7 separate regions of the Homo sapiens genome follow, and regions 1, 3, 4, 5, 6 and 7 are each linked to region 2. The links are contacts of gene promoters, found by promoter capture Hi-C in blood cells and fetal thymus (Javierre and others, 2016). All regions are on one chromosome and are shown on one strand. The core of a region is centred on a gene start or on the middle of the fragment in contact, and the rest is flanking DNA. Distances in the headings are between cores, read along the strand shown.

What was found. The method cuts DNA at HindIII sites, captures the fragments that hold promoters and counts their contacts. A CHiCAGO score of 5 or more calls a contact.
Region 1: a fragment that was not itself captured here is called in contact with the fragment with the promoter of VCPIP1 in region 2 in 1 of 17 cell types (erythroblasts); the score reaches 7.0 in erythroblasts.
Region 3: a fragment that was not itself captured here is called in contact with the fragment with the promoter of VCPIP1 in region 2 in 2 of 17 cell types (M0 macrophages and M1 macrophages); the score reaches 5.9 in M0 macrophages.
Region 4: a fragment that was not itself captured here is called in contact with the fragment with the promoter of VCPIP1 in region 2 in 1 of 17 cell types (M2 macrophages); the score reaches 5.3 in M2 macrophages.
Region 5: a fragment that was not itself captured here is called in contact with the fragment with the promoter of VCPIP1 in region 2 in 9 of 17 cell types (fetal thymus, erythroblasts, naive CD4 T cells and 6 more); the score reaches 6.6 in fetal thymus.
Region 6: the fragment with the promoter of TRIM55 here is called in contact with the fragment with the promoter of VCPIP1 in region 2 in 3 of 17 cell types (M0 macrophages, M1 macrophages and M2 macrophages); the score reaches 8.2 in M0 macrophages.
Region 7: a fragment that was not itself captured here is called in contact with the fragment with the promoter of VCPIP1 in region 2 in 1 of 17 cell types (M2 macrophages); the score reaches 5.0 in M2 macrophages.

The regions. Positions count from the first base shown.
Region 1 is chr8:67,253,152-67,256,407 of GRCh38, reverse strand. ARFGEF1 (ARF guanine nucleotide exchange factor 1) reads left to right here. Exons shown (of 39, transcript NM_006421.5): 18 at 2,786-2,957. Among named protein-coding and RNA genes, the nearest start is that of ARFGEF1, 89 kb to the left of the region's middle. The HindIII fragment of the contact is 395 bases long and covers 1,485-1,879 here.
Region 2 is chr8:66,665,700-66,669,053 of GRCh38, reverse strand. It overlaps VCPIP1 (valosin containing protein interacting protein 1), which reads left to right and starts at 1,823. Exons shown (of 3, transcript NM_025054.5): 1 at 1,823-3,354. The coding sequence starts at 2,096. C8orf44-SGK3 (C8orf44-SGK3 readthrough) reads right to left here and starts at 1,458. Exons shown (of 19, transcript NM_001204173.2): 1 at 1,353-1,458. C8orf44 (chromosome 8 putative open reading frame 44) reads right to left here and starts at 1,458. Exons shown (of 2, transcript NR_161217.1): 1 at 1,353-1,458. RefSeq lists enhancers at 1,226-1,735, 2,106-2,625, 2,876-2,935. The HindIII fragment of the contact is 1,085 bases long and covers 1,454-2,538 here.
Region 3 is chr8:66,020,936-66,024,392 of GRCh38, reverse strand. It overlaps DNAJC5B (DnaJ heat shock protein family (Hsp40) member C5 beta), which reads right to left and starts at 2,840. Exons shown (of 6, transcript NM_033105.6): 1 at 2,688-2,840. It overlaps LOC105375883 (a long non-coding RNA gene), which reads left to right and starts at 2,912. Exons shown (of 7, transcript XR_929008.3): 1 at 2,912-2,969; 2 at 3,160-3,370. The HindIII fragment of the contact is 1,665 bases long and covers 1,008-2,672 here.
Region 4 is chr8:66,044,676-66,048,156 of GRCh38, reverse strand. The region is part of intron 2 of DNAJC5B (DnaJ heat shock protein family (Hsp40) member C5 beta); the gene reads right to left. Among named protein-coding and RNA genes, the nearest start is that of DNAJC5B, 25 kb to the right of the region's middle. The HindIII fragment of the contact is 3,073 bases long and covers 621-3,481 here.
Region 5 is chr8:66,107,332-66,110,966 of GRCh38, reverse strand. No RefSeq gene overlaps it. Among named protein-coding and RNA genes, the nearest start is that of TRY-GTA5-1, 4.2 kb to the left of the region's middle. The HindIII fragment of the contact is 6,679 bases long and covers 1-3,635 here.
Region 6 is chr8:66,125,740-66,129,510 of GRCh38, reverse strand. TRIM55 (tripartite motif containing 55) reads right to left here and starts at 2,382. Exons shown (of 10, transcript NM_184085.2): 1 at 2,075-2,382; 2 at 1,035-1,207. The coding sequence starts at 2,242. RefSeq lists a silencer at 2,564-2,836. The HindIII fragment of the contact is 5,122 bases long and covers 1,318-3,771 here.
Region 7 is chr8:66,062,747-66,066,146 of GRCh38, reverse strand. All of the region lies in intron 3 of DNAJC5B (DnaJ heat shock protein family (Hsp40) member C5 beta), which reads right to left. Among named protein-coding and RNA genes, the nearest start is that of DNAJC5B, 43 kb to the right of the region's middle. RefSeq lists a silencer at 1,639-1,933. The HindIII fragment of the contact is 2,496 bases long and covers 566-3,061 here.

The sequences.
Region 1 (3,256 bases), core at 433-2,932, 590 kb before region 2:
ACATATGTATATACATATGATTATATGTGAAGTTACTCCTGTTTTAAACACAATATTGAGCAACTATGCATTTACCACAAATTTACTTGATTTTATATAGGACTTTAAAAATTTATTAAAGAATTTAATAATTCAAGATTTGCCTCTGGCATATTTTTGGCAGTATAGTCAAAGCAGCTCACCTTCAGGGCTTTTATTATCGAGCATGATGACTTCTATTCTACGGCTTTATAAGGTAGTTCACAGTTGGGATTTGTTTAGATATTTTTACACCAGAATTTTCAGTCTAATTTTTTCATTTGATTTTTCAATCTACACTAGAGTATTTTGACCTGGGTTTACATATGTTTGGTTTTAAAAAGCTATGCTTTAAAAGACATTTGGTTCTCTAAATGAATAAGCAATATTATATGCACCTGTGCAATGTCTTCCTATACATATGTACATACTCATGTTATTTTGAAGAAATATTAAAAATTCCTTTTATGTCTTTTCATAAGTACCTAGACTGTGAAAAGTTTCTAAGGACATACCAGTTAGGGAGTATTACCTTCACAACAGTGTCCCGTCTTTAGCATAACAGTGCCTGTTTGCAGAACATGTGCTTGGAGTCCTAGTCTAGCGGTGGCAACTGCTTGTTGTCCAACTGTTCCTTATCAGCTTGCTGCCTGGTGTCATGTGCTGCTATGCAGCCTGCAGCTGTAGAACAGCTTGTGAGTTTCTATGAAGCTAAGTAATCTGTTAGAAAATTGTACCCGTGATCTTGGCCTCAGTTGATTTAGATAACTATAACAAATGACAACATTTTAAAATACAAATAACTTTAAAGGAATTTCTTAAAACTAATTCTCATTCTTAGTTCTTTTCAAACTTAAAAAATAGGTGGATTTTAACAAGCTGTTTATGTTCCCTTTTCACCCAGAATATTTATAGTTAGGCTACTTTTTATGTAGTGTGTGGTGAGTCAGTGATTAAAAAAAAATTTTAGGCATATTTAGAACACAATTTTTGTGTATACAATAATCATCAGTAGTAACAACTGGCTTTAAGTGATTTAAACACTAAATAAGGCACAGCTTAATACAAGCACACGAGGATAAAAGTCAAGAGTAGAATGTTCCATAAAAGATGGCAGGAGAAGAAAAGTAGGATTTTGTTTTATACAGCTTCAGAATCCCACTATGGCAGAAGTGTTCTGTGTGAAGCAGTGCACTTATTTTGGGGACCTCAAAGCAAAGTATTCTGTACGCCCACGTATGGGATCCCTAACCCAGATCCACAGGCAATTAACTGCTACTTCAGATTTTCTGTCAAGACTTTTCTCTGCCTCTGATTGGCATAATGCTAAAACATTTTGCCATGCTTAAAATTTCCAGGTGATTTTAATCTTCCTTTACTTCTTATTGGCAGCAGTGTGTAGTCTTTTATTTTGTTATTCCTGGTGTGTTTTTTAAGCATTCACCTGAACTTTAGGTAAAAAAGCTTCTTTCTTTCATTTTTTTTTTTTAGTGCCATGACTTGAGTTTTTAAAGTTATAAGATAGTAGGGTTTTATTCCATTAAATGATACGTTAAACACTTGAAAACTTTCATGGTAATATTTTTACATATTTGTAGGGAAAGCACTCCTGCCTCCCTTTCTGACATGTTAGAAAAATCTGTTTGCAGAATAATCTGAAGTAAATAAGTGTATATATCCCAGTTACATTTTCTGAAAGTTTTGGTTCCTCTGTACTTTTGTTTTTGTTTGAGACAGGATTTTGCTATGTTGCCTAGGCTGGACTTGAATTCCTGGTCTTGTGCCATCCTCCTTCCCCAGCCTCCTGAATAGTTGGGACTACGGGCACATAACACCACACTCTCTATAGTTTTTGCAAGCTTCTGATGACTTGCTTGATTGTTTTTCTGTGTACTTTCATGTAAATTTACAGGAATTATATCTTAAGAGTTACCTTAAGTTCTTTATGGAAGGTGGTAGAAATATATTTAATTAAATAAATACCTCTTCAGAGACATCATATAAGACGTAGAAATATATTTAATTAAATAAATGTCTCTTCAGAGACATCACATAAGACTTCTGGGTTTTATCTATCTAGGTTTCTGGAGGTAAAGTGTAAACATTTTGGCTATGCTAGTTCCCAAGTTTGGTAATGGGGTTACCGTCTTACAGACTCCAAACTTGTATTCCACAGCTTTATCAAGGTGCAAAAGGCATTTCTGTTTAGGGTACTCTTATACAAGACAAAACATTCCAAGGATACTTTGTACAGATCACCTGACATAATTCAGTTGCCACAGTGACTCAGTCAGAGAGATTGTTAACTGGTTTTAAATAAATCTCAAGTATTGTTACTCTTATACCCACTGTATATAAAGTCAGCTTTAAATTCATTAACAGCACATTTATGTTCTTCTAAACTAAGATTTGAATGTTTTTGATATCTTTATTTCCAATAATTGTCATGGCCCTTTTGAGAGACTGCAAAAGCTCTTAAACCTTGAGCAAAAACAAATATTTTCATTGTTCAACTTCCCTCCTTTCTGGTTGCACATTACTCATGTCCACCTCAGAGCATGAATTAGTTTATGCCAGAATGGATCTTTTCTGTATTGCCTTCATTTTCTGTGATTTTTTTCATTTTTATCTATATTTTGTTGAATACTTTCCAGTTTCTATCCTCAAAAGTATTTACAAAATCTCTTATGTAAATATTCATATCCTTAAAATACAAGTGTAACCTTTATGTTAATTTTTAGGAATTATAATGGTTTTTCATATCTAGGTGAAAAATAAAATGACAAAGGAACAATACATTAAGATGAATAGAGGTATCAATGACAGTAAAGACCTTCCTGAAGAGTATCTATCAGCCATCTATAATGAAATAGCTGGGAAAAAGATATCAATGAAAGAAACAAAAGAACTAACAATCCCTACAAAATCAAGTAAACAGAGTAAGTATCTAAATTAATTGAATTCTGATTGTTCAAGGGGAAAAATATGGGTTCCTAAGAGTTTTTCACTTATGGTCAGGTGTGGTGGTTTGCATTTATAGTCCCCAGCTACTCAGGGAGGCTGAAGCAGAAGGATCACTTGAACCCAGGAGTTCGAGACCAGCATATGCAATATAGCAAGGTTCTTGTCTCTAAAAAAGAAAAAACTTTTTAATTTAAAAGAGAGTTTTTCACTTGATTTAGAATAAAGTAACCTTAGAAATATTGTTTAGAACCATGTTTTGATGAGAAATATTATA
Region 2 (3,354 bases), core at 574-3,073:
TTCTAGTTGGTGCCAAATGTTTCAGAAATTTTGAGGTAGTCCACTTACCTAAGGTGATACTAAACTTCCAGAAAGCAAGAATTTCCGTAATAAGTGAAAGAGGATGAATGTACAAAAATAATACTAGCTTTCAATTAACATATGAATATTGTTCTGTATGAAGAGGCAGTTTCCTACCCAAGTGAAAAAAGAATAAAGCTGTTGCCTCCTTAACATTAAACATCCCTTCATCACTAAGAGGAGACTCTAAGGCCTAGCAAAAGATTTGAGCCTAACATTTTGGGTTTTTTTTTTTTTTTTGAGACGGAGTCTTGCTCTGTCGCCCAGGCTGGAGTGCAGTGGCGTGATCTCGGCTCACTGCAAGCTCCGCCTCCCGGGTTCACGCCATTCTCCTGCCTCGGCCTCCCAAGTAGCTGGGACTACAGGCGCCCGCCACTACGCCCGGCTAATTTTTTTGTATTTTTAGTAGAGACGGGGTTTCACCATGTTAGCCAGGATGGTCTCGATCTCCTGACTTCGTGATGCATCCGCCTCAGCGTCCCAAAGTGCTGGGACTACAGGCGTGAGCCACCGCGCCCGGCCGGGATTTTTTGGTAAGCAGCAGCGTAAAAATCACTCTCAAGGTTTGAGATTGGGATCCAGCATAACTGGTGACTTGACCTTGGGCAAGTCACTTAATTCCTTTTAGTCTCAGTTTCCCTGATTGTAAATGAAGTCAACACCACCTGGTAAAGGTATTACAGGACTGGTGTGAGGATGAGATGATACATGTGAACATATTATTAAATATGTAAACTATAAGGCAATAGTAAGCAAATGCTAGTTACTATTCTATGTAATACAGGCCTAACCTTTCCTGCCTATGTCCTGATCTGTAAAAAGAAGACAGGTTGAGATCTGAATGTCTATCCACTCACTTATCAGCTGCGTGAACTTTAGCAAGTCATTTCCTTTCTGGGCCTGTTTCCTAAGAAGGTTATTTTTTAAGATCAAATGATATCGTGTTATGCAAATGCTGTCCAGACACATATTAAGAACTTAACACATGATGGCTCTTATTATTCTCTGGGGAGTAGGGTGGTAAAGAGCAAATGAAATTAAACCTAGTTAAGAGAATTTGTATATGCACACAAAACTCTACAGACATCCAAGGTACCGTTATTTGCACTGTAAACTGCCAAAACATGCAGGAAACGAGAAATCAAATGGCGCCTCAGTGATTCGCACTAGAGAGGGGGAGAAGGCAGAGCTTCCGAGAATCAACTGTTTTCCCCCTTATGGCCTCCAGCCTAGATTAGACCATTTATTCAACTTCCCAGCCCCCAATATCCCTGGACATTTATTTACTGTACCTTTTTCACTGAGAGCCTTTCCACTCCCCTCCCCTTCTAGTAGTCGTGAACTTCAGACCCTCGCTTCGACTCCCACTGCCATAACTGTTTTTAACCAAGCTTCCCTGAATCCTCCCCTCCGCCTAAGGAGGAAGTGCAGCTAGACGCACCGCACGGCATCCTAGGAAATGTGGTCTCTCAGACTCTTTGCCTTGGGCTGCAGAGTGGGGAAGACGACGAAGGAGAGCCCAGTAAAACTACAACTACCGGCAGGCAACGCGAGTCACCATCTTTCTTTCGCCCCTTTTCCTGTTGCCGTCCTCTTCCTCCTCTCCTCTAGCGCTGAACCGCTTGGCCTCACGGTACTTGTAGTTCCTTCTGGACTCAAGATCCTAGGGCTTGATGGCCAGCACAGAGGCTGGAAGACTCTAATTCCCAGAGGGCAGAGCGGAAGCTGCGCCTGCGCACACTCAATGAGGGCGTGTATGTCTGTGTCTGAGGGAGAGAGAGCGAGAGTGAGTGAGTGTGAGTGCGGGGTGGGGTGGTGGCCGTTACGTTCGGGGCAACGGCTACGGCAGTGGAGAAGTAAGAAGAGAAACAACGTCCGGCGCTTCCGCCTTCGCTTAGGAGGAGGAAGAGCTGGTAGGGAAAGGAAAGTGCTTCGCCCTGGGCCTGGACTGGACCGAGTCGGGTTGGTGGGGGTCTGGGCTATGAGCTTTTGAGGGTCGCCTGGGACGCGGAGCGAGACACGAGAGCCAGGAGCTATGTCTCAGCCGCCGCCGCCGCCGCCTCCGTTGCCGCCGCCACCTCCTCCCCCTGAGGCTCCACAGACTCCGTCGTCCTTGGCGTCGGCGGCTGCTTCGGGGGGGCTTTTGAAGCGGAGAGACCGGAGAATCCTTTCCGGGAGCTGCCCGGATCCGAAGTGTCAGGCGCGTCTATTTTTCCCGGCCTCCGGTTCTGTCAGCATCGAGTGTACCGAGTGCGGCCAGCGGCACGAGCAGCAACAGCTGCTGGGGGTTGAGGAGGTGACCGACCCGGACGTAGTGCTACACAACCTGCTGCGGAACGCGCTGCTCGGGGTTACGGGGGCACCCAAGAAGAACACGGAACTGGTAAAGGTGATGGGCCTTTCCAACTATCACTGCAAATTGTTGTCGCCCATATTAGCTCGCTATGGAATGGACAAACAGACAGGCCGGGCCAAGCTTCTCCGGGACATGAACCAGGGCGAACTGTTCGATTGCGCCTTACTGGGTGACCGCGCCTTCCTCATAGAACCAGAGCATGTTAACACTGTGGGCTATGGCAAGGACCGCTCCGGAAGCCTCCTGTATTTGCATGACACTCTGGAGGACATTAAGCGGGCCAATAAAAGCCAGGAATGTCTCATTCCAGTGCATGTGGACGGGGATGGACACTGCTTGGTGCATGCTGTGTCTCGGGCTCTAGTAGGCCGAGAGCTCTTCTGGCATGCCTTAAGAGAGAATCTTAAACAGCACTTTCAGCAGCACCTGGCCCGATATCAAGCTCTGTTCCATGACTTCATTGATGCTGCTGAGTGGGAGGACATTATCAATGAGTGTGACCCTCTGTTTGTACCACCTGAGGGTGTTCCCTTGGGCCTGAGGAATATCCACATATTTGGTCTTGCCAATGTGCTACATCGTCCTATTATTCTGTTAGATTCCCTCAGTGGCATGAGAAGCTCTGGTGATTATTCAGCCACCTTTCTACCTGGGCTCATCCCTGCAGAGAAGTGCACTGGGAAAGATGGTCATTTGAACAAACCAATCTGTATTGCATGGAGCAGCTCCGGTAGAAACCATTATATCCCCTTGGTAGGCATAAAAGGGGCTGCTTTGCCCAAACTGCCTATGAATTTGCTTCCTAAAGCATGGGGTGTGCCTCAGGACCTTATTAAAAAGTACATAAAACTTGAAGAGGATGGTGGTTGTGTTATTGGAGGTGACAGAAGTTTGCAAGATAAATACTTACTTAGGCTTGTTGCTGCTATGGAAGAAGT
Region 3 (3,457 bases), core at 591-3,090, 640 kb after region 2:
TAAAACTTCTTTTATCCCTCTGTTTTTCACAATTAGCTTTCTTCTGCAGTTATACACTGTAGTGTGTGTAAAATTACTCAGTATATTACACAACTTTTAAAATTAATAAGGAAGCTGAAAGTTATTACAACAACTGTGTAAAGCCTATGCCATGATGGAATGCTCTTTCTTATGCTCCTTCTTGTTGGTAATTGCTTCATAATTATCTTTTATTAAAGGCAACCTGCATGTAATACCAGAAACATATGGAAAATCCTTACAGGAAGTACACATTTTAGTTGGCTAAAAAACAATCTAATGGCCTAGAAAATACTTACCAGACATCTCTAAGGTTAATGATGGCGCTGATGACTATAAAAGTTAGGTCTCTATTTATATTTAAAAATTCTTCATTTCATTTCATTTTCTTTCAGAATTTGGATCTTTGGGCTGATATTAGTACATTTGCAATAAATTTAATTGGAAAAACGCTGACTACCTGCACCCAGGGACTGCCTGGGCTCAAACTTGCAGATTAATTACGGATGCAAGACATATATAGCTTCATGTATGTCAAACCCTGGACAAGTCTAAGGAGGCTCCTCCTACACTATCATGTTAATTCCAAATAGAATATTAATTCATGGGATAAGTCACAGAAGGCTCATATAGAAGATATATTAGGTAAGTAAGTGTAGGTCGGATACCACGGATGGATGTAATAGCCAGCCCCACACCTGCCAGATAAAGTGTTTACTCATCTGTACATTCAAGGGTATACACACACACATTCATAAACAAAGTATTATCTACCTAAACAGGAAAAGACAAGGCCACAGGAAGACCGTATATTTATTATAAAGTAAAAATCTGGTAAATTGTATACATGTTTTTTTAAGAAAAAAAGGATTACTTCTAATCAGCCCTCAATTTACAGTAGCTAGTCAATTTCCCTGGTTTTATTTTCACTGTTATCTCAGTGTTTTGAATGGGGTCTTCAGTGCTTTTTCTTGTCATTGACCAAAGCTTATCTTGTATGGAGGTGCAGAGGCTAGGAGAATATCTGCTTTTACCAATAACCACACCAAGGTGATAAATGAGATTTCCTCCTTTTAGAATATTCTAACTTAGAAAATCAAAGAGTTAGTTCAAATATGAACCAATACATTCATTCATTGTGGGGCAGAGTGTATTGGAGAGGCCACCAGGCTAAGAGTGAGGGGGCTTAAACTTTAGTCCCCAGCACTAACTAGCTTGATACCCTTAGCTGAGACACTTCTCTGTGTGGTTTCTCCTGGAAACGAAGCTGTGGAATGGATGATCTTCTAGTTCCCCTCCGACTCTAAAATTCTGCAGTATGCGACAGGCTGCAGCAGCATGTGACTAACACAAGGATCAGGGAACGTTACAGTCAACAAATGCAAATGGAGATGAGTTAGGACATTCTGTGTTTTGTGGGTATTATCTGAGGTTCAGCTTAAACTTAGTTTTCAATGGCTATCAATGAAGGAAGCCTAAAAACTGGGCCAATGAGATTTTAATGTTCAAGTCTTAAGTGGTTATGATTAGATCATAACCTAATTGTGAAAATCACAGTGACTTCTGTACAGAAGTTGAATGTGTGCTATGAAGTTTATGTGCAAGTATATTTTGCTTTTATCTGGATCTCTCAGTTTTACATGCTTTGGGGACTATTACTACTTTCATAGAGTGTGAGAGTATTGACCTTACTGCTGTGATATATTTATTCGTGATGTGTTGGAGGCCAAGGAGAGTTAGAGTTGTGTCCTGTGGATAGAGAATCCATCTCCTCCTCTTCTTGTCGATGGCTGTTGGGGTCCCCTGTGGGTAACTGACCTACCTGTCAGAACATGGACTCTTACTCCCACTGAGGGAGCATCGCCATCAACTCTGACCTTGCAGGCAGAGCTCAGCGTGCCTGCCTGAGCTGTCCTGTGCTCCAACTCCGGGGTCGCAGTGTGCTAAGACCCAAGGGAGTCCACATGGGGATGAGTCAGGGCCTGGCGCTGGCCCCATGCTCCGCCCCACTGGTAAACAGAACAGTTCTTTGCCGTCACTCAGAGCCTCTCAGGGCCCCAAGACTCCAGGAAGAAACAAGTATTGTAGAAGCCAAAACCCCAAGGCAAGGTAAAGAAAACAGAACTGTCCGCATCCCCAGCAATGATTTCACTGGCAGGAGTTGCTGGGGGCGGGGTGGGGGGTCCGGTATATGTTCCAGCAGAGCTGTTTTACTTACTTCTCAACCAAAAGGCCCTTCTCTTTTACTCTTTATAGGGGTATCCTTTTGCCTTTCAAGATTTGAACTTTCAAAACTTGACCTTAGAGTCAGTCTTGCTTGCTAACCCATAATACAACTTTGCACCTTTTATTACTTTTGTTTGTTTTTGTACTGGCTTCTATTAAAATACTTCCTTAGTTAACTTATTTTTGTTTACTCTACCCTGTCATCCGGGGAGGAGCTATTGAAAGAAAAAAACCTCTAAATAGAAATATATCACCAGCAGCACAAGTGGACTACAGCCTCGGAAATGTCCTCACCGTCCGGCTTCATGGCAAGCAGCCTGGCTGTTGGCAAGATGCGCCCAGCTCTGCTTCTGCTCGTGTGGAACCTTACATTACCCTAACGCAGCTGGGGCACAAGCCGTCTGTGCTTATACTATTCTTCTTAAGCTTGGAGACACACTCACCTTGAGATCTCTCCTCTTTTTCATCTAGACACTGGCAAGTCCTGTTCTGAGCTTAGCAATGCCAAGTACCTGAACTGGAGGCATGGCTGGCTGATCCCTTCTAGCTCCCTCCAGTAGTGTCCCACCTTGGCTATATCAGTAACTGCGCCTCCTGTTATTTCTCCTTCCCAGTTGTCAAGGTCAAACCTGGGCTGGATATTGTGATGTCACAGAGTGGAATCCTCACTCCTCCAGATGGTCCAGCTGAGGCCCTCTTGGACAACACTTCCTCTCCTGCCCATGGTGGGAGGTTGGGAAGGACATTCCCCCATTTCCATTTGCTCTGCCATTCAAAACCTTGTGAGGGCCCTCAGGGAAGAATCCCTTTGCAGGTCATAAACTGACCTGCAGAATTATGGGATCTTAACTGTGGGGAGAGACCTAGAAGACCGGCTAGTGACCAGATTCTCATCTAACTCCTTTTTTTTTGCAGATGAGGAAACTGAGGCCCCACGTGGTGAAGACAATTTTTACCCGAATCCACCCACAACAAGAGACCATTTGGATAATGTACATTATGGGAAGAGAACAGAGTCTCAGTGAAGATCATGTTTCCCCAGCAACACAGGTGCCAGGAGTAGCTGGCTCTGGTCCCAGCCCAGACTCAGAAATCCTGAGCCACCAGACCATTTCTAGATTAACAAGTAAGGTGACTTCTGAGCAACTAATGTTTTCATTGAGATTTGATGATAAGCAGCAAAGCTCAAATGAAAGTCCAGAGTTAGTGTTGG
Region 4 (3,481 bases), core at 908-3,407, 620 kb after region 2:
TGAGGGTGAGCAGCTGGGTGGTGGCTAGTGGGGGGCCTTCAGGTTGCTTTGCATATACTTTAGCTGGAGTTAAGAAAACATCCTTGATTCAAATTTTAAAATGGGCATGGTGTGGACTAATGCTAATGGAGATAATGGTGATAAAGGGTGGACACTAAAGCTCTTCTCTGCAACTCTCCCTGAGCACTGGCACATCTTTGGGAGGATTCTGCAGGAGGCGGGGCCCTGTATTTGTACAGGTGAGGTCTAGCAGCATAGCAAAATGAATACATGAATACCAGGAAGGCTACATTTACTCCCACAGCCAGTGGGCCTGGCAACAACAGGGTTTTTATGCTCAACAAAACATTATTCACTTAAATGTCCCTGCACCACCATACTCTGAGCTCCTCAGGGGCTGGAATCCTATTTTATATTAATCTTTGAAATACAACTGACATAGCACAGGGCTATGTTCCATAAAAGTCTTAAGAGCTGTCATATTGCATGAAAGGGAAGGAGAACAGGGAATTAGGCTTTACTGAGCCCCTCCTATGCACCAGAATGACAACTTTCGTATATGGTGTCATTTAATCCTGTTATCGGTACTTAGGGACATCAGAGAGGGACCCCCAAAAGCTTAGGAGTAAGATAAATAAAACGGTTTTCTGAGAGTTAAAATGGGAGATCAGTGCATGCTGGATCAGGAAGAAGCTATCTTATAAAATCATCTTAAAGAGATAAATGGCTCCTGGGCCTGCAAGACCTGATAGAACCTGATTAACTGCATAATCGTAACTGACAGTGTCAGGTTCTTCTTGTGTCGGTTATTCAGGAGGATGAGCAGACATGGGCAGGCAGAGAAAAACAAATGCGGAGGCCAATGCTGGCTGGGCCATCCAAGCACTATTGCAAGGAAGGAGGAAAAGGACTCAGGCCCCATTGGCCAAACGGTTGCTCTTGAGAGAAGCCCATCCAGCAATTTTGGCCCTCATTGTTAAAATTCGACTAATCTAACTCCATGCTGTCAAGTCTCCTTTTGGTTATTATCTGGCGTCCTACATAAGTCTTCCTCAAGGAAGAGAATGCACTGGTCACATGGATTCAGTTCTTTTCACTGGTCTCAGGGACAATTCTATCTCCTGGTAAATGAATAAATTGGAATCTGTTGATGATTTGTCTTGCCCTGAGATCCACCCACAAGGAGGGCATGAATGGGTCATGTTGACACAAGTGGTCTTCATCCAAGGATAGCTATTTCCCTTCATAAAATAATGGACATCCAAAGTTTGTGCACCATCCGGAGAACGTGGCTGCAGGGAGTGTGGCCTTCAGCAAGGCCCTGCTCTCTGGCTGCCGCCATCTCAGCTGGTTGAGCTTCCAAGGCTGAGAACTGGACAGCCTTTCACTGTTTTGACCACGGTAAGTTCATGATATGGTGATGAATACTGTCATATGAAGTCTTTAGAAGACAAGCAGCCTGTAGCCCCCGAGGGGCAGCGGGCATATACCTCTCTCCTTTGCAATCTCATTTTATGGATGAGAGAAGTGAGTCTCCCTGAAGTAAAGCAACTTGCCCAGGTTCACACAGGCAAGTTTTGAATTTAGAGCTATCTGGTTCTAAAGCCCATGTTCTTACTGGAGTGTCATATTGAATAACACTTGACATTTCTAAGATACTTTACAATTTACAATTTCCCCCAACTAGTATCTCATCTAATCCTCACAAGAACTCTGAATAGTGGTGACACTGAACTGAAGCAGCCTTGCACTGTGTCCAGCTGCAGGACGTGAGGGGCCCTGCAGCTCTGTCCACGGTGAGGGGCCACAGGAAGGCGCAGTGGGATCTAAGGGCTATGGTGGCAAGTGTTTTCCCTCTGCGCAGCCACTGAGCCTGCACGTGGACTAAGAGGGAGCTCCTGAAGGGGTTAGTTAGGAAAGTAGAGTTACCTGGAAGTAGAGGAATGTGTGGGTTATGCAAGAATTTCAGAACTTCTGCAGGGAGCCCAGTTTGTAAGCCACACAGGAAAGAAGATTCCTGGTCTCTGGGTCAAAACCTCCTGAGGATTTCCAGGAAGCCCTGTGGCTCAGGGCTACAGGAACCACATGAGCCATAGCCCTGAGCGTTTCTAGTCTTGTTAAACATGCTCCTACCACCTCTCCATTCCCAAACTCCTGGTTCTTATTTTCCCTGCTGACTGGGTGGTGACAGGATGGGGGCATGTTAGGTTTGGCGTTGGGCAGCACTTTTACTGGGTACACCAATGTCTGTGAGCAAAGCAGCCTAACGTTAGCATTCATGCTTTTCACAAAGGAAGACTCCGAGGTTTCTGGAGTTGAGGGTGCCTGAATCCTGTCCAGTATCTTTTCCTGTGTGAGGAAAGCAGCCCTGGGGAGCCTGCAGAGCCCTCTGGTGCCCTTTGAGGATGGTTTTCTCCAAGGCTCCCTCCTTCAAAATTATCCCAGGTGTGGAAAAAGAGAAATGGGCTCAGGCAGGGGCTGCTCCCAGCCCCTTCCAGAGAACAGTCCTGGAAACAGCCTGGAGCCTGTCTTTCTCTGCCCCAGGCCTTTGCTTCTCTACCCTCCCTTTTCTAGTATGAAAAAAAAAGGCAGATTCCATTTCTCGAAGAGTTTCATAGATAAAAACTCACACCCGGGAAGACACAGTAGCTAGCTAATTCTTTGGTTTATAATGTTTTTTCCAATCATCACTTCATTTAAAAATTGAATCACATTATAATCTATTCCCACTAAATGAAATTCCAGTAGCCAACTTGTTTGATAATATGCATTGATCAATATTCAGAATGGGTAGTATAGAGTGTTTATTGTCTGTTTCATCTTCTTTTGCCCTATTCCCAAATATTTCCTTTCAGACAGACAACATCTTTTAATGAAGAAACTTTTTTAAAAAGTCCATTTGCATCATGTTAAAATGCAAGCAAAAGATAGTTGGTCAATGTGGGAAGTAGTTGGCTGACTCTACACACTGAAACATGAAGGAACCAAAAGACCAGAAAGCTGCTTTGTGCCTCAAGCAGCAACAACACACTACTTTTTCTGCCTCCTTGTTAAGCTAGAAACCAGATTCTTCATATATTATTGATTTCTATGATATTTAGTTTCAGATTCAATAGAGTAATACATTGAAACCTTTAATGACTGTAAAGATGTTATGTCCTGAGAACATAATAACATAAAATCTCTTCCTTAAATAACCTTAAATAGTGGGCCCATAACCTTTTAAAATTCCTTATATAAAATACAACTTTTAAAACTCTTTTTTCTGTAACCTTTTGAATTATAATATTCCTATGCAAATTTCAAGTCTTTATTATTTATTCATAGTCCCTCATCTATCAGGCATCCAATGGGGAGAAAAATCTTGTCGAGAAAAGTCATTAAGTGATTTAATTTTGAACATCTAGTACATGATACTTAATCTTCTGAACTTAAAATTACTTTCTAGCTGCACGACAAAGCCATTAATATTACAAAAACC
Region 5 (3,635 bases), core at 806-3,305, 560 kb after region 2:
AGGCAGCAGCACAGAGGTCAGCCGCCCACAATGTTGTGCAGCCGTTGCTGAATTTTTTGCCAGGGAGATCCCACTGGAGAATGGCTTAAGTAGAGTAGATTTGCCAGACTAGAGCCTGTGGAGTGGTATAGGGCTAGGGAGTAGGGCAGAGTAGAGCCTAATAGAGATGGAAGGAACAGGAAGGCCACCGTACCCAACTCTCAGAGCGAGTTCTTTCTTGAGTTGGCAGGTTGGAGGATCTTGGGCCAGCATGGCTGTTCTCCACTCATGCACCATAAATGCAAAGCCTGATAGTCCGCAGGACACAGCCATTTTTACAGATAGCAATGTATCATGAAGGACACGTTATGTTTACCAGACATTTGGGAGGAAATAACAACAACTTCAAAAAGAAAGTCCAAGATGAACAAGTTAAATAAATGACCGAGGAGAAAACAAATAATGCAAAGAATAGAACAGAACTATTTAACAAAAAAGTAGTTAGGGATATCCTCAAGGACATCCAAGAGAGAGTTACAGCAATGAAAACCAAAATACAGTGATATTAACAGGAGCAACTAGGGAAGAAGAGAGTTCCTGAATACTAAAAGTATGATTGCTAAGGTGAAAAGTAACATACTGGTCATGGCTAAAGATCAGCTATGAAGATATAGAAGATAGAATGGAAAATATATCCCAGGACATCAGACCATGGAAAGCAAAAAATAAAAACATGACACTGGGTACAGTGGCTCACCCCTGTCATTCCAGTACTTTGGGAGGCCAGGGCGGGAGGATTGCTTGAAGCTAAGAGTTTGGGACCAGCCTGGGCAACAAAGCAAGACCCCCATCTCTACAAAAGATACGAAAATTAGCTAGACATGGTGGTGTTTACCTGTAGTCCCAGCTACTTGGGAGGCTGAGGCAGAAGGATCTCTTGAGCCCAGGAGTTCAAAGCTGCTGCGGGCTATGATTGATTGCACCATTGCACTCCAGCTCCTGGGACAGAGTGAGATCTGGTTATACACACACACACACACACACACACACACACACACACACACCAAAAAAAAGATAGAAAAGAAAAAAAAAAGAAAAGATAGATCCTGAAGACATAAAGAGTATCTAATATGAGCTCCAGAAAGAGAAAACAGAGACAATGCAGGGGTAAGAATAAAAGAAAGACATTGGTCATCAGATGGAAAGGATCATGCAAGTTAGGATGAATGAAAAATAACCATGCCTGGACACAGCCTAGTGACATTCAAAAGCATTGAGGATAAAGATGAAACCCTGTAACTTTCAGAGATGGAGGAAAACAAAGCAAAATCTAAACAAGAACTAGGCTAGCTACAAAGGAATAAGAATTGGATTATGATCAGACTTCTCATCATCATTACTGGATGCTAGAAGACAGTTGAGCATGGCCTTCAAAGCTCTGCAAAGAAATAATTTTAAGCCTAGAATTGTATGCCAATCAAAGTAGCAATCACATATGAGGACTAATAGTTCATAGTTGCAAGGTCTCATAAAGTTTAAATCTATGATTCCTCTCTGAAACAAATAAAAAGTAAGTAAACATTATTTGAGGATGTTGTACTGGATGGGTTCTCCAGTAAGCTGAAGCTCATGCAGAATTAGAGCACAACATTTTACAGGGGAGTAACATCTGTGAATGGAAAAGGGGAGGACACAGGATTGGGTAGGGGTAGTCATTAGACAGTGATGCAGACCCGACAAAGTTTCTGCCAACCCTCTTGGTGGCTCCAGAGCAAAGATTTCCTTTTGGAGGAGTCTCAAGTTGGGCAGAAATGGTGGGGCCCTAGCATCACCACCTTGCTCAGTCATTGGCCAGAGGCTTAGAACCTTGGCTAGAGGAGTTAACACCTGATGGCTACTAGTTAACCATCCTCCTTGCAGCTGGGCAGTGAGTTCTTTCTTGAAAGGCAGTCTAGCAGCATGTCTCTGTGTATGCCATGGATGTACTTCAGCAAAGCAAAGTAAGAATCCAAGAAGGAGGAGTACACAGGATTTAAGAAAAAAGGAAACCAACCCAGGGACTCAATGAAAAGAAAATCTCAGGTTGACAGTGATGCAGCTGGCAAAGAAAGCAATCAGGACAAATTAAGGGGAGGAAAAAAAAGTTAGAGGGCTCTGGGAAGTTTATTTTTCAAAAAGAAGCGGATTCTTTTACAATAGTAGTGTGATTAAGGATCTGGGAGACCTTAGAGATATGATAAAGGCACATGTCACTTTTCTCAAAAAGACAGAACGAAGATACTCAGGGATTTCTAAAAAAAACAAAAAAACAAAAAAAAACTTTATAAAAAATACGTGGTTCAAATATAAAGCAAACTGAAATATGGCACAATTTTGAGAAATTGATGGCATGCTTGTTGTTGGGCTGAATTGTGTTCTGTCTTCCCTCCCCACCCCAATTTATTTGTTGAAGACCTAACCCCTAGTACTTCAGAATGTGACTGTATTTGGAGATAAGGCCTTTAAAGAGGTAATTAAGCAAAAATGAGGTCATTAGGGTGCACCCTGATCCAATACAACTGGTGTCCTTATAAGGAGAACAGAATACAGAGACAGCAGGCACATGCATGCATAGAGAGAAGGCTACAGGAAGACGCAGGGAGAAGACGGCCATCTACAAGCCACGGAGAGAGGTCTCAGAAGAAACCAAACCTGCCAATACCTTGAGCTTAGACTTCTAGCCTCTAGAAGTGTGAGAAAACAAATTTATCTTTTTAAAAGCCACCCAGTCTGTGATATTTTGTTATGATAGCCCTAACAAACTATATGGGGATGGTGAAGAAATTTGCTTTTGTTTCTGCATTTTTTGACATCATTACATTTTTGTTTAACCATATGTAAGTTATTTTACATAACACGTATGGGTCAGAGTGTCCCATAATTGTCATCTAATTATAGATATTCTGTAATAAAAATTGCTTAAGAATGAAGAAACTGAGGCCCAAATATGTGAAATGACTTATCCAAGGTAACAGAGGGGAGAAGTGGCATATGAGATCTTAGGCCTCCTGAATCACAGCCAGGGCTTTCTGTAGCACTGCTTGGTCTCTCTGTCCTCAGATGGACACTTGGGTTAGGGATATTGGGCTGGCAGCTGCTACTCTGGGAGGAAGGAGGTTGAAAGGCAGGTTCTGATGCCAGTACGGTCAGAAAATGGACATTCTGGGAGTAGAAAAGCGTTTCATCTATTAAAGGTTATTCTCTTCTCACCTCTAAATCCAAAGGTGAAATCCCTTAAATTTGTTAACAGCAGTGCTCCAAGGAGGTGTGTCAAGACTCCGTGAAATGTGAAAAAAAAAAGCCATTGTTTATTTGAAAAATTATTCCTTAGACATATGTGCACTAAAGAGCTTTCAAGTTTTTCCTTTCAGTCAAGGAAACCATTCTACAGATCAGGAAGCTCTACCCAGAAAGATTAAACAATGTCTTTAGGATGACCATCCAGATTAGGGGAGCAAGGCTGTATTCAGGCTTACTGACTTATCCATGGTTTTCTCTAAATATGCACCATCTCCAAGAAGGATATTTGTGAGAAACCACAGAGATGTTGTTTCTAGGTCAGAAAGGGAACTATTCTGGGGAATTCCAGGGAAGGTACACTTGATTCTCATTATTCG
Region 6 (3,771 bases), core at 1,133-3,632, 540 kb after region 2:
CTTTAGCGGAAATTAATAGCTATAATAATTATAATAATTATGTTAGATTTATAGAACAGCTTTCCTTCCAAGAGCACAAGCCTCTTAGAGCTCTGCAGATGTTCCATAAATACGTGTCCCCTAATGGAATCACAATGAGGCCATTTCTAGATGGTCTCAATATTGCTATCAAGCTTTGTGGACTGGACTGACCTGCACACAATTGAAAAGGGGCTCTTCACACCGTGCCTTCTAGGAATAAGCTTCCCGCAGCATTGTGTCTAGGAAAGGAATTCTATAGCCAATGTGGTTTGGTGAATAAGAAGCCTTTTTTGTTATTTTTTAAAAATGAATGGATAGATATATAATGCTATCACGATGTTATTCACAATCAACAAGTGAATGCTGACTATGCAGTAAATACAGTATAAGGAATAGGGAAACATAACCTGAATTTCACCCTTTTTTTTCCTCATGGCTCTGAAGTTTAAGTCCCTAAAGGCCAGGGTTTTGCCTTGCTTTGTGACTTCCCTTAGAGTAAATACAGTGACAACCTATGTTAGAGGATTTTGTTTTTATTATCATCCAAACAATTTTAAGGCAAGACTGTCTGAACTAGGAACTGGGCTACTTCGGAAGATGCCATTTCTATTAATTTTCTATTAAGTATTTACTAGATTTTTTTTTCTTTGCTTTGTAGGGATCTGGAGCTACAAAGTGCCTGTGAAGTGCAAAATGTGTAAAATGGATGTAATACCAGGCTTTAAGGTGGAGGGGGACAGCAGTATGTCTCTTTCAGCATCACCATCTGGAATGGATTGGTGTTAATGAGTCACTTCATTCTTAAATTGATACAAAAGCATGGGCACCAACTCCCCTCTCTCCTGCTGTGAGCAACTCTCAGTCTCACTGGGAAGGACTGACTTGGAAAACCATTTTTCCATAAAACAGTCTGTGATTGATAAACAAGCATTCAGCGTAGCAACCCATTAAAACAAACAAACAAAAACAAGTTTCAGATGGGCTTGACACATGGAAGAGTGGAAGAGTGTTACCTGGTGGACTCCTGCTTGTAGATGTCAATGATATTTTCCACCAGCAGGTTCCTCTGAAGTCCATATACCCCATGTCTATCCAAAACCACTTCATGTCTACAGGATGGGCAGCGGAATCGGCCCCCTGATGCCATGGTGGTACCTCCTCTTGTGGGCAAATACGGGTTAGAGGCCTGTTCTTGCCAAGTAAGAAAAAAGGAATTGGGTAATGCCACAAGCAGCTTCTCTGAGACTTATTTTCACTCTCTGCTACTACAAACAACATGAACTTCTACTTTAAGCTTGCCATAAGATCATCCCTCAGGGCTTTCTCAGCAAGTGGTCCTGAAACACAGGGTCAGACCTTATCCACAGTCATCTGCGAATATACCATTGTCCACGTAAGGTGCTTTTCCGTCCACCACTTTCAGAACCAAAAGTTCCAGCCAGAAACTCCACACTCATGTCTTCAGCAGTTACTCATTTATAGTTTTGAAACACATTAAATGGTTTGACTTAAAAAAAAATATGATTCTTAGTATTAAAATAAAACTAGATTTGGGAGTAAAGAGGACACAAACCAAATCATTAAAAGAAACGTGTTTTTCTTGAAAGTAAATGCAACTTTATAAAGTTTTTTTGTTTGTTTGTTTTTCTTTTTTTGAGACAGAGTCTTGCTCTGTTGCCCAGGCCGGAGGGCAATGGCACGATCTCCGCTCGCTGCAATGTCCGCCTCCTGGGTTCAAGCAATTCTCCTGCCTCAGCCTCCCAAGTACCTGAGATTATAGGTGCCCGCCACCATGCCCAGCTAATTTTTTTTTTTTTGTATTTTTAGTGGAGATGGGGTTTTGCCATGTTGGCCAGCCTGGTCTCGAAGGCCTGACCTCAGGTGATCCACTGGCCTCAGCCTCCCAAAGTGCTGGGACTACAGGCGTGAGCCAAAGCGCCCGGCAACCTTATAAAGTTTTTTAAAGGATTTCACCTCAATGTTAAGCACTTGATTCCAAGAGGAGGGAATCTTTTCCACCCCCTCCCCTCAACCAAATTCCAAACAAACCTACCTGGAAAATATCACTGGCACATTTCCTACACAGGTTGTGCTGACAAGGGAGAATCACCACAGGTTTCGTGAACATCTCTAAGCAGATGGGACAGATGAGTTGCTTCTCTAAGTTATCCATGGTCTGCTGCTCTTTGGAAAAAGATTTGTAATTCAGAGATGCGCTCATCTCCTCGCTGTCCCCAAGTGTGCTGCCAGGGAAGGGTGCTGCGAGTGGCTCCAGCAAGTGTTTCCTGGATATTATTCCAGGGATTGTGTGATCAAGTGTCCTTTACGTTTCTCTCGGTGGAGGACATTGTTTCAGGCCCTGGTTTGGAGTGGGTGCTGGAGCTGTTTTTAGCAGCCTGCGGTCACGTGACGGTGGGCTGACGTGTCCATATAAGCCAGTGACAGGAGGATGGATCCTGACAGGTGACGGAGAGCAGGAGTCAACATTCTTGCCCCAGGGAGTGAAGAGAGTGGGTGGGAAGGAGGATTACAAACCCCATTTAGACGGGGTTGTGAGGAGAAGGAGGTCGAAGCTGACAGTTGTCAACAACAAATGCAAATGTGCATGCCTAGCCACTGAACCATGCCCTCTGTGAGCACTCACTGAGAACTTGGCGATGGCTTCTCCAGGAAGGGGCAGAACGCAGCACAGAGTCTGTGTAACTAATGCCAGCCCTGTCTTGAGAGTGTAGGAATTGAGTCACGGAAAGTAGCCTAATAGCACCTTCTTAGGTGAAAATGAACAAAACATGTCTCGAAAATTGTTATCCTGGCTTCACAAAGGCAATCATCAAAAAGACTTTCTTAATGTTAAGTATTTCATCTTTGTCAGCTGGGGTTGTGGTCTTTGAAAAATTCCAATTTAAAAGCTAAATTCAAATCCCTTCACCATAAAGGTATCCACCTAATAAATAAATAAATACATGCATAAATAAAAATTCAAAACCAGTGGATGATCTAATTATTTGAGAAAAAAGTTACATTATAAAACAACTCTAGTATGCTGTTTGCTCTTCCACATTGCTTTCCTCTTCCTTGGCCCTCTTTCATCCTATACTGCCCCACCTCCTACATACACCCAAAAACACAAAGAAAATTTGATAGTCTTTTACTGATTATTTAAATTCTTAAATTATATAATAGTTTGCAACAATAATCTGTAATGAGGTAGTAACTGGCAGGCACCTGGAGGTGGCAGATCTATTATTTTATTTTGTCATCCCTTGGGGGACAGTTACCAGTGCCATTGACAACTGAAGTATAAATGGAGTCCTACTTCCATATCTGCATTTCATCTGCCTCCAAAATACCTATTCTCCCTTGCATTTCCCCTTCCTCCAAGGTGACTTGTTAAACCATAGTTTCTCTGGTCATTTCTGATATTCTTGGTCTGCTCTTGAGTCATAAACATCGATTCTGACATTCATCAGGATTTTGTGAAGCAACAGTTTAACCAATACATATTGTATTTAAAAATGTTTAAATCAGATCAAAAATAAAAAAGAAATCCAAGTCTGTTTATATGTGATAAATTTCGGCTTTCTTTCTCCTTCATTTTAAAAACCTTGGGCAATAAACACATTTTGTTAACATATCCCTGGTGTGAATTAAATTACCAGTGAAGTGTAGGTCAGTTATGTGTGGTCTTAGTGCTGTGTGCACGGAGAGCTTATTGAGAATCTAGTAAGCTCTATTAACTAATAATAAGTT
Region 7 (3,400 bases), core at 564-3,063, 600 kb after region 2:
GATTAGTGATGTTGAGCATTTTTAAATATGTTTGTTGGCCATTTGTATATGTTCTTTTGAGAAATGTCTATTTAACACATCCAATTATCTAAAAAATAGCCTGACCATCAGATTTCCAGCCACGTAGAGCCAGTCTGCTTTACCTACCCTGCAAAACCTCACTCCACTTCTGCTGGCTTTTGATAAGATGGAGCTTTGTGGTTATAAGACCTCAAGCTTTTATAGTTCTTTGGAGCTCTCTGACTCAAAAGACCTGCCATGCTGCTGGATGACATAACTAGACCCGTAAGCCCCTCTTTTGACCCCCTCTTCCTTAGAAGTTCCCTCACCCTCCTCTCCCAGATGGTGCCCCTTCACTGAAAGCCCCTGGGCAGTCTTATGCTATGAGGGCCCCTCTCACACAGCCATATCGAAGCACCCAAGCACCAACAAAGCTTATGATGTGTTATTGCCTCTTGTGGTCATATCTTTTCTCTTGATCAGCCCCTAAATCCTTCAACCCTACAGCCCCCTACAACCACTTCATGCACTTGCACCTAGTACAACTGCCCTCCCACAAGAAGCTTGAGTACAGTATGTGGCTGAGAATGCTAGCAGGGCTTAGGGACTCAGGAGCCACTGGGCCAGGATTAGTCTCTGTCCTTCATAAGGGACAGAATAGAAAGCTCGGGGCACCATTTGGTTTCAAATTGCAGATTGTGATGCCAGTGCTACCCCTGCTGTGTAATTATTTCTAAAACACCTGCTACCATAGTACATGATTCAAGTACTTTGACCAGCAAGGCCCCACTGAGGACACACTGAAGGCCACATTACACAATCCTATGATTTTCTCACATTTGCAGATGGAATATCTGAGCAACTCACCCCAACCATTGTTTGAGTGTTCTCTCATTTTCTGGGATGCAGTCACCTTTGTGATTCAAGACAGATGGCATGAGATAACAACACGAACCGTAGATGATGATCTGTTTCAGAGAATTGGTCTTTTCCCTCGTACAGAACCATATGGAGAGTCAAGTGCTGACCTCTAGTGGTAGTGGAGTTGGTGAAACCACTGTGTCTCAATCATCGCTTGAAAAGTATTTCCCCACATTTTTACTAGAATGTGTATTAACTTGACTTTATGAGGAATTATACTTGATTTTTTAAATGTAAGGATTAAAAGTACAACAATACTTAATCTTTTTTTAAGGTAGCTTTCTGGTCACTACAGTTTTTTCCTATGGCTGATTAAGAGCCAGTTCATTACCCTCTCTAATAAGGTAGAAGGAACTGGGATATTTGTGCAAACACAGTAGATAAAATACATGTCCAACACCAATCATAAGGCACTACTTTAGGGGATGAGGACCTGAACTTCTGACACCAGTGGGTCACTGACAGCTTTTAGCACGCCACTAAGATTTCTGTGTACTGTATAATATAATCCTTTTCCAACAACCTACCAGCCCACAGCTCACTCAGAATCTGTAGGCTGCATACAGCTCAAAATATCTGTATCTGGCCCAAGCTCCCAATAAAAGTTTCTGGGCATCTAACTTTATTATGTTTCCTGGGGGAAAATTTACATTTGTGGTTTTTCTTCAGGCCAGCAATCTCTACTGAACTAGAAGGTCAAGGGAGGATAAGACTGCGGTGTAGGAGAAATGGCTGTATAGACTTCCTCCGCCTGATATCTTGTCTCCTACTTTCAATAGCAGCTCGCACCCCTGGTTCTAGTCAAAGCTCTCAGCAAGCACTTGCTCTCTCTAGGCCTTCCTCCTGCCGGCTTCTGGCTTAAGTTCCAGTGACAAAGCTCCAAGCAGGTCCTGGTAGTTTTCAGAAGCAGTCCCTGCCAATAGCTCTTTTCAGGCTCCCAGTGTCTCTAGTCTTTCAGTTTTCTCAGTGCAAAAACAAACAGCATTATCCTCTGATCTTTACGTCAAGCTCTCACTTTCTTATTCTTCCTAAACCCATTTTTCCCCAAACTCACTTTTTAAACCTAATAGGACCTATTTTTCTAGACTGGCAGTCTCACTGACAATTTCCTTAACTATACAGGCTGAATCTTGTGTTCATGCACTTGAATGCTACTCAAACCATCTTACTCAATTTCTTAATCATTCTGATTTCCTGTTTCACCCCCAAGAAGATGACATTAGCTACCCACTAATTCCACTCCTGTTTCTCTGCTGGCCAGCATTGCTGGAGAAGATTGCACAACCATGCAAACCAGAGCCAGTAAATTTAAAGAGTTTACTACATAGAGTAAAATTTAATAAGGTTGAAAAGATATGTCTCAAAGACAAGCAAAACAAGGGAGAGTACAGTGAGTGGGATAGATGAACTTGAGCATAGGGTTCATATTAATGAATACAATGAATATTATATGTATATTCATCTCTCATAGTATAATATAAATAATTATCCAATACTAAATAGATATTGAGTGAATGAGTGAGTGAAAAAGTTACGGATCGTAATGATTCTGGCACCTAGGAATGACTGAGATTGGCACTGCATGAAGAACTAAGAGGTTCGATCAAGTGAAAGACTTGACGAGGGACAAGGGAGGTTATGCAGCCCACCGGAAGACAACTCTTCCAAGTGGGCTGTGAGTATGGCCTCACATACTCTTCTTTTCAGTGGAAGGTTTTAGAACTCAGGAAGCAAATTAGTGCTTGATAGAGATTAATGTCAATTAATCTTGTGAGCTTGAATCATCACTCTGCCTTGTAAATATTTACAATTCTTCTATTAACTATGCATTCCCCTGACATTTACACTTTATTCATAAGCAGTCTCTGTTTTCACCTGTAATTGCTAATAAAGATGGGTAAAAGCACCACAGATTGGGGTTGCCACAGATTATTATGGAAATGGCACTCTTTTCTGCTTCTTTTGAAAACAGAATTTGCCTCACTTTGGTCTACTCTGAGGCAACTCATTTCTGCAGAACCGGAAGATAATTTCTAGAAAATTCCATGTGAAGTCAAATGAAAAAGAACAGTCAACTGAGTCTTCTGCTGTCATGTGAATCAGAATACTTGGTACCTTGTCAACAAGGAGGAATTAAGCTTATTCATGAGACACAGAGACCCAAGTGCTAATGTGCAAAACTAGTTCACTTTGATTTTTTGTTTGTTTGTTTTTTAGAGTCAGGGTCTCACTCTGCCACGTAGGCTGGAGTGCAGTGGTGCAATCATGGCCTACTGCAGCCTCAAACTCCTGGGCTCAAGAGATCCTCCCACCTCAGCCTCCCAAATAGCCAGGACCACAGGCACATGCCACCAAGCCTGTCTATACGTTAATATCTATTTAGGGTTTTGTTTTGTTTAGAGACAGGATCTCGCTCTGTCACCCAGGCTGGTGTGCAGTGGCATGATTATAGCTCACTGCAGCCTCAAACTCCTGGGCT